Regions from separate parts of the Homo sapiens genome. Here region 1 is linked to region 2. Evidence: promoter capture Hi-C in human tissues and cell types (Jung and others, 2019). All regions are on one chromosome and are shown on one strand. The core of a region is centred on a gene start or on the middle of the fragment in contact, and the rest is flanking DNA. Distances in the headings are between cores, read along the strand shown. Region 1 overlaps IST1 (IST1 factor associated with ESCRT-III). Region 2 holds the start of VAC14 (VAC14 component of PIKFYVE complex).

The links. The method cuts DNA at HindIII sites, captures the fragments that hold promoters and counts their contacts. A contact is called where the count stands out against the background at its distance.
Region 1: a fragment that was not itself captured here is called in contact with the fragment with the promoter of VAC14 in region 2 in 1 of the 25 tissues and cell types used here (aorta).

Annotation. Positions count from the first base shown.
Region 1 is chr16:71,929,180-71,931,879 of GRCh38, reverse strand. IST1 (IST1 factor associated with ESCRT-III) reads right to left here. Exons shown (of 10, transcript NM_001270975.2): 10 at 681-2,700. It overlaps PKD1L3 (polycystin 1 like 3, transient receptor potential channel interacting), which reads left to right. Exons shown (of 30, transcript NM_181536.2): 29 at 1,697-1,828; 30 at 2,202-2,342. The coding sequence ends at 2,342. Among named protein-coding and RNA genes, the nearest start is that of IST1, 35 kb to the right of the region's middle. The HindIII fragment of the contact is 3,323 bases long and covers 1-2,700 here.
Region 2 is chr16:70,799,737-70,802,436 of GRCh38, reverse strand. It overlaps VAC14 (VAC14 component of PIKFYVE complex), which reads left to right and starts at 1,279. Exons shown (of 19, transcript NM_018052.5): 1 at 1,279-1,640. The coding sequence starts at 1,537. It overlaps HYDIN (HYDIN axonemal central pair apparatus protein), which reads left to right. Exons shown (of 86, transcript NM_001270974.2): 86 at 1-353. RefSeq lists enhancers at 1,244-1,303, 971-1,593 and a silencer at 1,384-1,573. The HindIII fragment of the contact is 10,557 bases long and covers 1-2,700 here.

The DNA.
Region 1 (2,700 bases), core at 5-2,504, 1.1 Mb before region 2:
TTACGTAGCAGTTCCACTATAAAGTACTAGAGGTAATCTAAAGTTTATTTCAAGTATAAGAGAGATGTATATAGGGTTTATGCAAATACTGTGCCATTTTTAAAAAGGGACTTTGAGCCGGGCACAGTAGCTCACGCCTGTAATCCCAGCACTCTAGAAGGCCAAGGTGGGGCTGATCACTTGAGGTCAGGAGTTCAAGACCAGCCTGGCCAACATGGTAAAATCCCGTCTCTACTAAAATACAAAAATTAGCCAGGCATGGTGGTGGGAACCTGTAATCCCAGCCACTCAGGAGACTGACTGAGGAGAATCGCTTGAACCTGGGAGGTGGAGGTTGCAGTGAGCCAAGATCACGCCACTGCACTCCAGCCGGGGTGAGAGCAAGACCATTTCAAAAAAAAAAAAAAAAAAAAAAAGTGGGGGAGAAGACACTTTCTTAACCTTTAGGGAAGCTTGCAATTAAAAAATAAAAATAAGGGACTTAAGCATCCTCAGATTTTGGTACCTGTGGGGGCCCTGGCGCCAATCTCTCTCAGATACTAAGGGACAACTGTAACTGCTGTTTTGGCTGACTAGGCTGTGTTCTGTTGTGGTTCTAGCTCCAATAACTAGGGGATGAGCCTTTGCCACTGCAGCACTTCGTATCCTAAAGCTGTGAAGGAAGTAATCAGAGTAACAAATTTTTGCTGACACCTCCTTTTGGGGATAAAAAAGGAACTTTTCTGCTTTGGATGTAATTGTACATAAAAATACAGTAAACATAAAGTAAAAAACATTAAAAAACAAATAGAGCAAACAAAAAATAAACAGTAAAATTGTACATAAAAATAAACTTATTGGAAATAAGTCTTGTATCACAAACTCAGAGATTGCCCACATTATCTGGTTGACCTGAAATTGTTATAATAATCATTTTTAAGTAGGTAAAACAGTTTGGTGCTTGAAAATATTTTGCCATATAGATTTCCATCAGGGTGGCATTGACTGTAATCAACCCCTCTGTTGGGATATTTTTAAACAGTGCCCTAGTGGCAACAATGAATGGGCCAATACCAAGGGAAAATAAATACCATTTGTTGAAAAAGAACATCTAAATTTTAAACAACAGTTTTTGTTATGGGAACCATTCCAATAAGCCCAGAACTTGATATTTATGTATGCAGAAAAGTAAAGAATGGCAGAACTCAATGCTTGTACCTTTAAAAATGACAATGGAAAAAAAAAAATACTAAAAAGCCAGTTTTCTGTGGCCAACCTGTTAACTTTTATTGGAATGCTCCTGTGTTTAGGGTTGTAGTTTCTTGATATGGCAGAGACAGTGTGCATTCTCATTTCTGGTATGCATTTAATCTTTCAGTGTTTGCTTACCCCCCTCCCACTTTTAGCTTCCATGATTAGATGTATTTTTTGCCAAAACTCATGTGACATTTGAATCATTTCCAATTCCACTGCAACTCACCTGTTTTCTTGTGAAAGCCCTGCAGTCACAATTATCTTAACCTCCTTAAAATGAGTCATTCCTGCTCTTCTGTCCATTTAAAAGTATTTTCCTTCTTATTATCTTTTGACTCTCTCCCTAAGTTTCCTTCGGATAAGCTTTTCTTCTGATAAGATCCCAAACACTAGCATATAGCTTATGTTTGTAAAGTATAAACTAAATTGTCAGTCACTGCAAGTGTTCTTATTGTTTTCCCAGGTTTTCGCTTTAGACCCAGTCCTGGGCACCTTTCTGATCCTCACCAGTGTCATCTTGATGGTACTTGTGGTAATTAATCTTTTCGTTTCGGCCATTCTCATGGCCTTTGGAAAAGAAAGAAAGTCGCTTAAGGTAGGTAACTAAAAGATAAACTAGCATGCTGTTATATCACTGGGAAAGCTCCACTGTAACTGCCCCTAAGATGACGGGCTGACATAATTTATAATGCACAGTATCATATTCCCTTTATTAGTTTCAAAAGCTCTGCCAGCTATCTTCCTAGGAAACCCAATTTATAAGACTACATAATATTCTATAGCCATTGTCCTATAAATAGTTGGCTCGCAACCATTAGTGGAAACACTCCAATGCCTGACTGCAAATTATTAAAGAAATAGTATCTTTACATTTACTAATTTTTTAAAAATCTTTGGTACTTTTTTTACTCCACTATTAGCAGTAATTTCAATTTTCTCACTTTTCTCTTTTTGTCTTCAATACTCAGAAAGAAGCTGCACTAATAGATACACTGCTACAGAAGCTCTCAAATTTGTTAGGAATCAGTTGGCCCCAAAAAACCTCATCTGAGCAAGCAGCCACGACAGCAGTGGGCAGTGACACTGAAGTTTTAGATGAACTACCTTAATCCTGTTATCTCCTACTTGGCTTAGTATTTATTAGCGTATTACTACTTATCTTTGCATGGCATAGCTTTAAAATTATAATATACTTTGTTTTTAATTCTGTAAGTTAGGAATCAAAATCCCCTTGGTCCCAAGTTCTTATGGATCTTGGCACTGTCAAGATAGGATTAACAATGCAAGAATACTACGAGACAAACTAGCTCTGCTGCCAAGCAGCAAGTAACAGAACTCACCACCCATGGCCCAGGATGGCTGCGGGAAATGAAGCAGTCAGAAGTGAGCTCACTGCAACTTACTAAAAATAAACATCCAAGGATGAGGCATGGCAGATGCGGAGCCCTGCCACTGAGGAAGACCAAG
Region 2 (2,700 bases), core at 30-2,529:
TCACTTGATTCGGTCAGGCCGACTCAAGTTAATCTCTCTTTTTATTAATTCAATGTCTGCTGATTAGGGACCTTAATTACATCTGCAAAATCTCTTCTGCGATATTACATAATATAATCATGTGAGTGATGCATAGCCCATCATATTTACAAGTCTTGTTCACGCTGAAAGAGGGCATAATACAGGGCATGAACACGAAGGGGTGGGAATATTGGAGGTCATCCTAGAATTCTGCCTACTTTTGCCCTTTACTCATTGCGTCCCTGTTTCTGTTGAGGAAAATACTCCATTTTCAAGACTGTTATAAGGCCTATATATGCACTTTTCATTCATTAAAGAAAAGTATCACCATGCATTCTGAAACTGTTATTCTTTGAGCTCCACTGTAATCTAGCCCTTGTCCTAAGTCCCTGTTCACTCTGAAAGCTTATGATAGGAAAGGCTGATGCACCTCCCTGTTAACTGCATGTTTACCACACTCCGGCCATAAATTGCTTTTAAATATTTTGCCACATAGTTGGGATTTCTGTCTCACCATGTAATGTGATTCCCGAAGCAGCTGAAGGGGCTGCTTTCCAGGGGACCTATCTAGAGACCCGCACTCAGCAGATCTGGGGCCTTTCTCTCTGTCTGTAACCAGCCCTCCTAGGCATCAGAGCATGTTAAACACACCCCCAAATGGTGGAGTGACAGACACTGGTGGTACCTGAGATCTTAGGTGGTAGACAGGTAGTGCCATTTTTAATTGAGAATTTATTTTGATGTGTCTTAGAAAAAATATACCTATTCAAACTCATGGTTTTAGGGCATAAGCAAAGCTAAAAGAGATTTAAGGTATTTTTTAAAGTGAGTTGATTTGAGGAAAACATTAAATAGATAATACAAGTGGCTAGAATATGGTGAAAGTGATGACAGTGTTACTGCAGTTAGGGAAACGTCTGCATCTAGGAAATTGGTAAGTGACCAACTACTGAATGAACTAGTGAATTCGGTGACTATTGAATAAATTATGTTAAGTGAATCAGACTCCAAGAACCCATTCGGTCTTACGAACGTCTACAGAAGCCCACCACGTGCCATCAGTTGGGCGTGAGCTACACACCCATTAAAGCACGTCTCAAACCACACTCCAGCTACCTGGCGCGCAGCGCGATAGTGTGTGCAGTGTGGGTGGAGCCTTCCGAGGGCGTGGCCAATCCACCTGCGGCCTGCGGTGGGGGCGTGGCTGGAGAGGGGCGGGCCCTCGCGACGGAAGGCGGAAGTGCTGTAGAGTCATGTGACTCGAGTAACATGGCCGCTGTCTCGTGAGTCCCGCTAGTGCCGGGCGGGAGTTGTTAAGCGGCCAGGGTCAGGTGTGCTGGAGCGGGGTCCGGGCCCGGGTTCCAGGGCGAGGCGGCGGAGCGTGGCAGGCAAGCCTAGAGCGGCGTGGTCCATGCGCCGGCGCCGGGGGCAGAGCGGAGCCGCAGACTCCCCTGGCCCCGGCGCGGCCCCGGCAGCCGCGGGCTAAGGAGTCGCGAGGTTCCCCCAGCTGCCACCATGAACCCCGAGAAGGATTTCGCGCCGCTCACGCCTAACATCGTGCGCGCCCTCAATGACAAGCTGTACGAAAAGCGGAAGGTGGCAGCGCTGGAGATCGAGAAGTAAGAGCCGCCAGGACCCCTCCCTGGCTATGCAGCCCCTGACTGCTCTGCTCCCCAGGGGGACTTCTCACGCCTTCCCAGCCAGGGTTACTTTCCCAGGTTTTAGGCCCTTACCTTAGCGCAGTGTTTAAGAGCAGATTGGGAGCCATATCTGGGAGTCCCTGCTTTACTCCTGACTGGCTGTGTGATTTGGTCCCAGCTTTTTAACCTCCCGGTGCCACAAAGGGCTGCAGTGAGAATGAAGTGACATCATGTATGGGTAGTGCTTTGCACAGTGCATGGCACATGGTGAGTCTTCGGTGCGGTGCCACCCAAACCAGCAAATCAGAGAGTTGTCTCTGTGGTGAGAGAGAAGTCAGAAGCCGGAGAATTTGCAGGTGATGCTGACCAGCCTGGTTTCTTACCCAGCTTCTGAGAAGTGAAGGAGATTGTTAGTGACCAAGTAGAGAAATCAGGTCGGAAAACTCGTGATCTCAAGGCTCAGAGAGTTTTTTGTTTTATCTGTGTTATAACACCCTTCCCTGCAAGTGGAAGTAGAAATAATTTGACCTTTCTTGCTTCTGCAGTCTTGTTACATGTATGTGTAACAATGATCTGATATTTTACTTTATTTCCCAATGTACAAAACAGCGAAAGTTTAACTGGGGATGTTTTATTTATTTTTTTTTCTGCAGTATTATTTTACTTTTGTGGGTTTTTTCCCAGTCACATTTTAGTGTTAAAGTCAAGTGAGTGAGTGATTTCAGAAAATTGGAAAGAAGCAGGCTGTGAAACTGGAAGAATACCAGTCTGCGAGTCAGAAAAGGTGAATTGTATTTCTGTTCTGTCCAGTAGAGTAGCCGTTGGCCGTGCGTAGCTATTATAAATTTAAATTATTAAAGATTAAACTTTAGTTTCTCAGTCACACTACCCGTATTTCAAGTGTTCAATAGCCACATGTAGCTATTGGCTGCTATATAGGGCAGCACAGATTATAGACTGTTTCCATCATTGCAGAATGCTCTATTGGACTGCTCTAATCTATTCCGTGGTGTGACATTCATTCGTTAACCTGGGGCAA